Linked DNA regions of Homo sapiens: region 1 is linked to region 2. The links are contacts of gene promoters, found by promoter capture Hi-C in human tissues and cell types (Jung and others, 2019). All regions are on one chromosome and are shown on one strand. Each heading gives the region's core, a stretch centred on a gene start or on the middle of the fragment in contact. The rest is flanking DNA. Distances are from core to core; before and after follow the strand shown. Region 1 overlaps TTC7B (tetratricopeptide repeat domain 7B). Region 2 holds the start of PSMC1 (proteasome 26S subunit, ATPase 1).

Region 1 (5,345 bases), core at 465-2,964, 450 kb before region 2:
AAAAAAATTAGCCAGGTGTGGTGGCAGGTGCCTGTAGTCCCAGCTACTCAGGAGGCTGAGGCAGGAGAATGGTGTGAACCCGGGAGGTGGAGCTTGCAGTGAGCCGAGATTGCGCCACTGCACCCAGCCTGGGCAACAGAGCGAGACTCCATCTCAAAAAAAAAAAAAAAAAAAATTATTCCAGCTAATAAATGAAAATGCAGTGGGAGAATTAGAATGTCACCACTTAGTAACTCCCGGGAGATTGATGCTGAAAGTGTTGAATACCAAGGGCTGCTAATGTCAGAACAAGAGCACAACACTGCTGAAGTCTTGCCAAAGGGATCGACCCTGAATTGATCAAGCCTGCGGATCTAGCTGCCAAATTGCAGGAAATACAGAGAACAGAGGCATGTATTGAACTGTAGCATGAATGTGCAGTTTTCTAGCCAGTGGGAAACTCTATAGGCTGAACAGTTCAGGTTTTCTCTAGCAGATAAGTTGTAAGAAAAAGAGGTAGTGGGGAAGGTGTAAAGTAGGAGCGATTTTGAAGAATCGTCAAGTGAAAAAAAGTGGACAAGGCTATAGGGTAGGGATGCCTACGTGAGGAACAAAGCAATTAACCAGAAAAGTCAGGGTAGTTGTTACTTTTAGTTGGAGGGGGCTGTTCATTGGCATGTGGTGAATGGCGGTGTCTTTATTTTTTTTGGTGGTGGTTACATGGTGTGTGCCTTCTAATAGTCCCTTACGCCATACAATTGTTTTATATGGCTTTCGGTATCTATATTTTATCGAATAAAATATTAAGAAAGAATTGAGGGGGTCAATGAAATATGGGCTAGAACAGTACCCAGCAGAGGGCAGGGGAGGGAATCCCTGCCCTGGGAACCCAGAGGCCGGGTGGGAATCAGGTCCTGGCTCAGCCCCTCCTAGAGCTGTTGGGCCAGACTCCCTTCTTCTCTCTCTGGGACTCAGTTTCCCTCCTTATCAGTTGCGAGTAACGAATTCCTGCCTGTGTCACTAGGTTGGCTGGCAGATCATCTGGAATAATGAGTTGGGGAATGGCATGGAACCAGTTAGTGGTATCTCAGAAGAAGATGATGGCTGACCTTTCCTGGGCAGTGACTGTGACCTTTCATCCTCACAACAGCTACATGAGTAGGTGTGCAGCTGGATCATACTCCATCCTAGTGGGAGGGACCCAGTCTCTGTCCTGAAGAAGCCCAGTCTCTTGTGGGGACTTTCTTGATGAGAGAGTGAAATAATTTTAATTACCATGTCAGTGGTTTGTTAGTAAATGGCAGCTCCTCTGGATGGCTTAGAGGGGCTTGAAATAGCTTATTCCCCTGAGCAAATTAAATATTCTCCTCACAGATCATGTTTGCTCTGCTGATGTGCTTAGCAAAGCTTTTTCTTTTCTGTAGATAGAGCCAAGGTAAACCTGAGCTTCGCGTCGGAGTGAGTGAGTGTGAACTCTGACTGGGAAAGCCAAATAAATGAGGTGCTGTGCGATGAAAGAACTGACTTCAGAGGGTTGACTTCTGGTCAGAGCGTCTTCTGTGTTGTCGCCATCTTATCAATGTTAGTCTTTTTCCCCGACACCATCTTTCTTCTGAGTCCTGTTTCTGCTGTGAAGCTCAGACGCCTCAGCATAAATTCTCTGCTACCCCTTTGTCACCCACTCCCAGTGGGATCCCATCCCGTTCTTTGCAGCCAGATGTGTCTAGGTTCAGAGACTTCAGCTGGCCTGTGCCGCTGGGAGCCTTCCCAGGCTGCTCTCCTGTCCCTGGGATGCCTTTGTTTTGCGTCATAGGAGGTAGTCACATTTTCCAGTTTGACTGCAGGCTTCTGCACGACAGGGATCATCTTCACCTTCCCTTAGCACTGGCATCAGATAGGGCCTGAGTTCAAATCCCAGCTCTTCTGCTGTGGGCTGTGTGATCATGGGCATGTTCCCTGTTATTTCTAAGCCTGTGTTTCCTCATGTATAAAGCTACAATTGAGAAGAAGAGTTTGGTGTAGTACATCGTAGAAACCGGTTCAGATTCTGCACTGTTTTCTATTAAACCAAAGGTTCACAATCACACCAGTGGCTGCTTTTGGCTTTTAGCCAGTAAATGTTTGTATGTGGAATGAAGGGCCGGATGGTGGGACGTAGCAGCTGGTTGGGGAAAGGCGGAGGATTCACGTGTTTTTGAGCATGGAGTCAGAAGCTTTCCAGGTGCCATCTCATTGCATATGGCAAGTAGGTGTTAGTCCTATTTTGCAGATGAGGAAGAGACAAGGTGAAGCCCGTTGGCCAGTCCTTCCCCATCTCAGTGCATGCCTGGCATCTGGTACTTGTTCCCCTTGCCATGTTCCCAGATGGCTCACATTCCATGCTCACTTCCAGTCCTTCTTCTCATGAGCCTCCTCAACCTTTGCCCTTTTTGTCTTCTCTCCCCAGCAGATTTGCCTTTCCCAGGCCCAAGCGGGTTATCTGGTCCCACTCCTGAGAATGTGTGACAATCCCATCGGCACTGTGCTGCCTCAAACTGAGCAGCACTGCTTTGTTTCCCCAAGAAAAATATCAGAGGCTTTTATTTACCAATTTAATGGCAAAGAGCCTCCCTTCCCTGTTGAGTTTCTATGTTATGGTTTTGAACTGGAGGCCTGTAGGCTTGCGACGCCTGTCGTCCCACAGTCTGTCTTCACCCACCTCTGCTACCTGCTTGGCTTCTGCAGCCATTTGGACTGCTGACCCCTGCACATGTAATGGTCTTTTTTTTTCCCTTTCTTTCAAATGATCCCCTTGGATTTTTTTCTCACTGTTCTAGCTTTGAAATGTGGTCGCCAGAGTTGTGTTGGAAATGCAGTTCTCCTGTCAATTGAATGGAAGTGAACGTTGCACTCTTATCCTCACACTCGAACTTCCAGCTCAAGTGCTTGTGGTGCGTTTGGAGGGACTTTCCTCCCCTTGACATCCTTTCTGCCTTTTTTTCCTCTCCATAGCCCAGTCGAGGGGATGGACAGGGTGGCCAGAAGTTCTTTTCCTATGTGACTTTGCCACTCAGAATTGATGAATGAAGTCATTTTGTTAGCAGGACATTTTTACCTTCCAGATTGTCTTTTTTCTGCACTTTTCTGGACTATTAAAAACGAATATTGTTGGCCTGTGCCCATCAGTGTTCTGTGCAGCTAATTGAGCCCCGTCTTATGAAGCAGGCTGACGGGGACCCCGCCCTCATGCTTGTCTTCCAGCTCTGGCCAGGTCTGGAGCAGACACTTCCCCAGTGGAAGTGGCGAGCTTTCCTCTCCAGCTTTGTGTTATGGGCTCATAAAGCTTTAGTGGTTCACTTTTGAGTTCAAATTTTTTAGTGTGATCTGGCCCTTCTTGATGAACTCAGAACAGTCTCCACACGCTCACTGTGCTAAGTGTGATGGAGCAGTCAGGATTCACACCTGCCAGACACGCGGTCATCTGTCCGTGCCCCACCCCAAAGCCGTGGCTGGAGACTGTTCCCCTGCCCCCGTCAGGGGCACCAGCACTCTTAGGAGATGTCACATCATTTCCCAGGAGGGTGACCACAAGGCCCCAGAGAAAGTTTTTTACTGTTCTTACCTGACATGGGTTGTCTTTTGTCATTGTGAGCCAGACCTGGGAATTACATAGGGAGTTCCTGGGACATGGTAGACTTTCAGTAAATAGCAAAGAGGATCAATGAATCAAACTGGGGAATATCTTTTTTCCTTCAAAATTAAATGACTTCAAAGAAGTAAAGCAGATTTTCATATGCTATAAATTGACTGGAAAACAGATTCCAGAATTCCAAAAGTTTTTTTTTTTTAAAACAATGATAGAGTTTTGAGGCTAACAGAAGTAATAATGGCAAATACTTAAAAAGCACTTCCTACATTTACTGACTAGTTTAATTCTTACAACAAATCAATGAGGTGGATACAGTTGTTACTGACTAGTTTAATTCTTACGACAGTGAGGTGGGTACAGTTACTCAATGAGGTGGGTACAGTTGTTACTGACTAGTTTAATTCTTACAACAGTGAGGTGGGTACAGTTACCCAATGAGGGCAATACAGTTGTTACTGACTAGTTTAATTCTTACAGCAGTGAGGTGGGTATGGTTAAATGAGGTGGGTACAGTTGTTATTTCCATTTTATAAGGAAACTGTGGCACAGGCACTTGCCCAAGGTCAACAATTAATAAATGGCAAAGCTTGGACTTGAACTCATGCTGTCCGGCTCCAGGGTCTGTAACCATGACTCTATTTTGTCTCTTTACATTCGGGTATATAGATAAACATATGGATTCCCGGGTGAAGGACAATCCTTATATGATAGATAAGTTCGGATTGGTTTGTTTTAAGTATTATTAGGTTGAGGAGTCCAAGTGTGTTTGGATACCATTAGGGTTAAACTGAACATCATTAAAATACAAGTTCATGAGGACTCACGTCTGCTGACTGGCTTACCATTGCGTTCACTGTGCCTCACTTCTTAGTGCATAGTAGGTATGAGTGTTCTCTCTCTCTCTTTCCATATATATATATATATATATATATACACACACACACACATATACATATATACACATATATACACACACACACAGATATATATGGAGAGAGAAATATATATTTGTGTGTGTGTATATATATATATATATATACGTTTCTTTTGGAATGAGTACTGATATTCTTTGACTCATTCCCAGAGGTTGAAAGGAAGGATGTGAGATGGGGCAAGGCTTTCTACACTTCCTGTTTCTCAGAGACTCGGAGCTTAGGGGAGTGGAGGGGACAGGTGAAGGGCAGGCGAGTTGCTCTTCTGGCTGGGCTGTCAGAGCAGTCTGGCCACTTTTCATTCTTAGGCCTTGTGCACGCCTGTTGGAAGGACTTGTTTATGTGTTCCTGTCCTGGCCCCTGAAGTATGAACTCCAAGAAGCCACTCTCTGTGACTTCTTTGACTTTATGTGTCTGGTGCCACTTACACTGCCTGGGCCGTAGTCCCTACTCCCTGTACTGTGTGCTGCCTGGCCGGCTGACCAAATGTATAATTGACTCTGCTTTTGTCACGAGGAAGCCTCAATTGCTGAGGTAGTCCAAAAAATGTTGTTAAGCCCAGTACAGCTCTCATAAGGTTTGAGGTGAGACATCCGGAAGCCTCGCCTGCTTGTTCTCATCTCGGCGTGGATGGCTGTCACACCCTCCGTCACTATATCCAGGCTGCAGCTGGCTTGCTCCATGGGTAAGAGAGAGCCCTTCGCTAACGAGGCCAAGGTTGTGGGTTTGATCCCTGGCCCCTGACTGCAGCAAGCCATCTGTCTTCACAAATGCGTGTCATTGGATATGAGGAGGAGAGTATGTAC
Region 2 (5,254 bases), core at 11-2,510:
CAGGACCAGCCTGGCCAACAGAGTGAAACGCCGTCTCTACAAAAATACAAAAATTAGCCGGGCGTAGTGGCGGGCGCCTATAGTCGCAGCTACTTGGAAGGCTAAGGCAGGAGAATCGCTTGAACCCGGGAGGCGGAGATCGCGCCACTGCACTCCAGCCTGGACGACAGACCAAGACTCCGTCTCAAAAAAATAAAAATTAAAATTAAAATAAAAAAGACCTCTATGAGATCTGGCCTTCTTGCCGTTCATGATACAGGTTAAACATTCCCATCTCAGGTCCTTTGCACTTGCTGTATCTTCTGCCTTGACCACATTTCCCTCAGACATCTGCAGGGGTTACTCCCTCAATTTCGGTCCGCTCAAATTTCACCTCCTCAGAGCTACCTTCGCTGACTCTATAAAAAGCAGCCACTCCTCCAAGCTATCCCTTTCTATACAATAACCATACAACAATGACCACCCCACCCCTGACATCATATTACATATTTCTGATGATTGTCTGCCTTCTGCTCTAGAATGTACGCACTATGAAGGCAGGGACTTCAATCAATCCTCAGTGTCTACAACAGAAGCTAGCCAAAAGTTTAACAACAACAACAAAACACCAAGTGCTCAGTAAATACTTGTTTAGTGAATTGATGAATAAATGCTAGCTGTTTTTATTATTACTACTGCACCACGGGCCCTTTCCGTCTTAGCTCCGCCTGTCATAACAACGTCTTTAAGGCCTCCTTCAAATGCCCCCAGCTCCGAAAGGCCTTCCACGACTCCGCGCTCAACTCCTCAGGTGGAATGAATCCCACCCTCTTCTCCAGCACCCTTCACCTGCCCGACTCAAAAAGCATTTTTCCCGGTGACTCGAGGAGGCGCCCCCGAAACTCCCAGCGCCGATCAGCAAAGCCCTGGTCGGCGGAGCAGCAAAGCCAGCGGCCTGATCCGTTCTGCCGCCCCACAAGACCACGCAGGAGACCCTCTCTCTGCTCTGAGCCCCGGCCCCAGGATCCCCGGGCAAGGCCCGTTGGTCGGCCCCGGCCCGCGGTGGACATGAGCGCGGTCTCTGGGAGCCTCCACCCGCCGAGAAGATCAGGCCGGCAAAAGGAGAAGAGGGCTGTCCCAGTTCCTCGGGCAGCCGCCTCTTTCTCTCGCCTCAGGCTGCTGAGACCCCATCGCACCGCGACGACCAGCGGAAAGAAACCCTTAGTCACTCACCATCTTGCCTTGGCCACTTGAGCTGCCGCTGCCGGAAGTTCCTCCACCACTGCGGCCCGCCAGAGGCGGAAGTCGTTAGGGACGCTACGGAAGCTGATAGGAACCAAATTCTGCGCTGACCAAGTTGTGCTCCAAGGGCTTGTGCGGGCGGTCTAGGGCAACGCAGCAGTTTATAAGCATAAAGTGAACTTTATAAATATTTTACTTGAAAGAAATTTTTGAATACCCGTTATGAGGCGCTTGTCAACAACTTAAGACAATGACCCCTACTGTCAAAGAATTAGGACAATCGTGAAAATATAAAATATTTAAATTATGCAAAATTTATAACTGGGAAGAACTTTATGGTTCTAAAAACTGGAATGGTATTTGGAACTGGGAAGTTGACATATACATTTGCACAAATATTTCAGTTATTATTCAGCTTCTGGAATTTAACCTGCACATCTGGGAGTATGTGTGTAACGAGTCTTCTAAACCTGTCTTTTTCTGATGACCTGTGACTTGTGATGATGCCAAATGTCTTAAATTCCTCATCTTGAAGCTGATTGGTAAAGTTCCTCATTTGTTACACCCTCCAGGACATCAGAAAAATGGCAACAATCCCTTCTGTTTCTGGAAATTTCATTAACAAGTGCTCAAAATACTGCATCTTTCTGAACTGGAGAAATGGATGATTTTTTTTCTGCTCCAGATTGATTTAGGGATTTTAGTTGTGAAACACTAAAAATATTTCCCTTATGAACACACAACAGGTATACTTCTTCCTTTTCATCATCACTGCAACACGGTAATAGAAAGTCTTAGCACTATCGACCTCTGTTAACAAATCTGGCATCTAGTGTACATGACACATGAAATCACACGATAGGACAGTATCACACATAGGATAGAGATGGTGAAACTCCCATCTCTACTAAAAATACAAAAATTAGTCGGGCATCATCGTGGGCATCTGTAATCCCAGCTGCTTGGGAGGTCGAGTCATGAGAATCTCTCGAACCTGGGAGGCGACGGTTGCAGTGAGATCACGCCCCTGCACTCCAGTCTAGGTGACAGAGCGAGACTCTGTCTCAAAAAAAAAAATTAATAAAAATTTAAAAAACAAAATAAATATCCTTTCCCTAATGCATTTTACAAGAAACAAGTAAATAGTAAAATATATAGTATGCCACATAGTGGTAAATGCCATAGGAAAAATTAATGCCTAGGAAAAATGCCTAGGATTAGGAGCATGCAGCAGTGGTGGGTGATTTTAACTTTAAATTGGATGATACTTGAGCAAAAGCCCGTAAGGCATGAAGGAGTAAGCTATTCAGATATCTGGTGGAAGAGCTTTCTAGGTAGAGGGAACAGCCAGGGCAGAGGCCCTGCAGTAGAAGCTGCAGAGGATGGAGATTAGAGACACCATATAGTGAAGAAGTCAGAAACAGGCACATAACTCCCAGTGGAAGCTCAGCGGTTAAAGGCGAGTCAATAGAACCCAGTAATGAAGAGAGTAGCCAACGTTGGCATCAGACTTTCCTATTGTGGCTGTAGGAAGTGACATAAAGTAAGCAGAAAATTTAAGTTTATCTACATAATGGACAGCTAAGAGAAAGCAGGGAGAGGATTAGAAAGACTACTTGGAGTGCTCAGCACTTGGGGAGGTTGGAAGTTGCAAGTGGAAAAGAGGGAGAGTTGCAGAGATGACTGTCAACCGGGTGGGGAGGATTGAGAGTCAGCCATAGGGCAAAAGAGATGCACAGGGGCTGGGCGCCGTGGCTCACGCCTGTAATCCCAGCACTTTGGGAGGCCGAGGCGGGTGGATCACCTGAGTTCAGGAGTTCAAGACCAACCTGACCAATATGGTGAAACCTCATGTCTACTGAAAATACAAAAATTAGCTGGGAGTGGTGGCAGATGCCTGTAATCTCAGGTACTCGGGAGGCTGAAACGGGACAATCGCTTGAACCTGGGAGGCGGAGGTTGCAGTTAGCCGAGATTGCGCCATTGCACTCCAGCCGGGGCGAAAAGAAGGAAAATCCATCTCAAAAAGAAAAAAAAAGAAAGTGACCATAAATGTAGTGCTCAAAGCTAGAAGGTCTCTGGGTTAGAAGTTCAACTTGGGTCTCACAGGGCTAAAATCAAGATACCAACAGGTTTCCTCTCCGGAGGCTCTGCTCTAGCTGTGTGACATCAGCAAGTCATCCTCATTTTCTCATCTGTATAACGGGATAATTATCTACCTTGCCGGCTGAGGATACGGAGAGGATAAAACTCTTGTTTTTTGATTCTTAAGAGATTTTTGCCAAAAGTAGATGGAATGGAGGCTGAGGTAGGAAGGTGTCCAAACGTGGACGGAGGGCTCATGCTAGGGTGGACAGAGGGGGCGGGGCCGGGGTGGACAGAGGGCAGGTGCCAGAGGCGAGCGTGCATCCTGTTCAGCAGCCCCCCTGCAACCTCAAGCACATCAGAACCAGCCCAGATGCTGACAAAATGCAGACTCTGGTGCCATCCGCCAGAGACTGTGATTCTATAGGCCCATGGCAGGGCCCAGACACCTGCATTTTAACAGATACCCCAAGGGATTCTGAGGCTGGGTGACTCATACACCACATTTTTAGAGCCGGAACTCCAGAACACTGGTCTGCAAAGCAGGGCAGCCACACCCTGGTGGCCCAGGGGCCCATTCGTGTGTTGGAAGAAGCCATCAGAATGACTTTTTATTTAAAAAATAAGAATAATTACTAATCAAACAGCCAAGGGGTTAACGCCAGGTCTCGTTTCCAGCCTTGTCACCAGTGAGCTGTGTTGTTGTGTCTCAGTTCTGTCGTCTGTGAAATAGGGACCTTTATAGTTCCTCCTTCATGGTGCCATTGTTTGAGGACTAAAGTAAAATGCTGAGAATTGCACTTGGCATAGGACAATTACTCTAGGTATCAGCTACTCTGATTATTATTATTATTTTGAGACAAGGTCTCATGCTGTTACCCAGACTGGAGTGCAGTGACAGAATCTTGGCTCATTGTAACCTCCACCCCCCAGGTTCAAGCGATTCTCCTGCCTCAGCCTCCCAAGTAGCTGGGATTACAGGCACCCGTCCCCATGCCCAGCTAATTTTTGTATTTTTAGCAGAGACGCGGTTTCACCATGCTGGCCAGGCTGGTCTCCAACTCCTGACCTCAAGTGATCCACCCACCTTGGCCTCCCAAAGTGCTGGGATGACAGGTGTGAGCCACCGCGCCTGGCCTTATTAGTATTTCTTGTTAATATACAAATTGCCATTGGCACACTCATTCTGTGCATATATTAGATGGTCCCGTATCCCATTCAAAATTTACAATCTCTTCGTAGAGTGGTACAGTGATCTTCAAACACATTTCTTCATGCATTCTCGAAAGTAATTTGCAAAATGTATTTCTTGATACATTTCTAGGTTAGCATCTAAATTTCATATAAGTTTAAATAGCTGCAAATGATCCACTTGCCAGGAAGTTTTAAGTATTGACATTTTAATGTATATACACAAAGGAATCTAACTATCATGATAGCTTGATATCTCATCCATTTCAAACTTATGTACGCAGGCTCTTTTCTAGCATTGAAAATATTTGCTTTCATCTCTTTTCCCTTTGAAGCGAATATTTCCATTCCATTTATCATGCATACTTTTATCCTAATATCATGTATGTTGAGGCTGGAAAACATTTTATTGATTGACCTCTCGCACATTTTTGCAAAAGTTTTATGTAAGTCAAAAATTTTTAATGTATTCTATTTTCTGTGTCTTTTGGGTCCTACATGCTAAAAATGTTTTCTGGATTTTGAATTATTATCAATTACCACTAGTACGCACTTGATCAAGATGATATACAGTTTGTGCTAAGTTAGTGTTCATTTCACCTACCCATGGATGGATATGACAATGTCAGAATGAGGCAGGATTCAGCACCAATTCTAGTCTCATTAGTTATTGTTTATAGATGTTTGGGCTGAGAATTCTCGTTCACATAAATGGGAAATGAAATAATTTTGTAATGAAAATGTCACACAATTCTTT

What was found. Contacts are between HindIII fragments. The study calls those that stand out against the background at their distance.
Region 1: a contact is called between a fragment that was not itself captured here and the fragment with the promoter of PSMC1 in region 2, in 2 of the 25 tissues and cell types used here (pancreas and small bowel).

What each region holds. Positions count from the first base shown.
Region 1 is chr14:90,700,992-90,706,336 of GRCh38, reverse strand. All of the region lies in intron 5 of TTC7B (tetratricopeptide repeat domain 7B), which reads left to right. Among named protein-coding and RNA genes, the nearest start is that of TTC7B-AS2, 6.3 kb to the right of the region's middle. The HindIII fragment of the contact is 4,066 bases long and covers 1-3,747 here.
Region 2 is chr14:90,252,559-90,257,812 of GRCh38, reverse strand. PSMC1 (proteasome 26S subunit, ATPase 1) reads right to left here and starts at 1,260. Exons shown (of 11, transcript NM_002802.3): 1 at 1,213-1,260. The coding sequence starts at 1,215. RefSeq lists enhancers at 557-1,084, 970-1,209, 1,085-1,614. The HindIII fragment of the contact is 25,675 bases long and covers 1-5,254 here.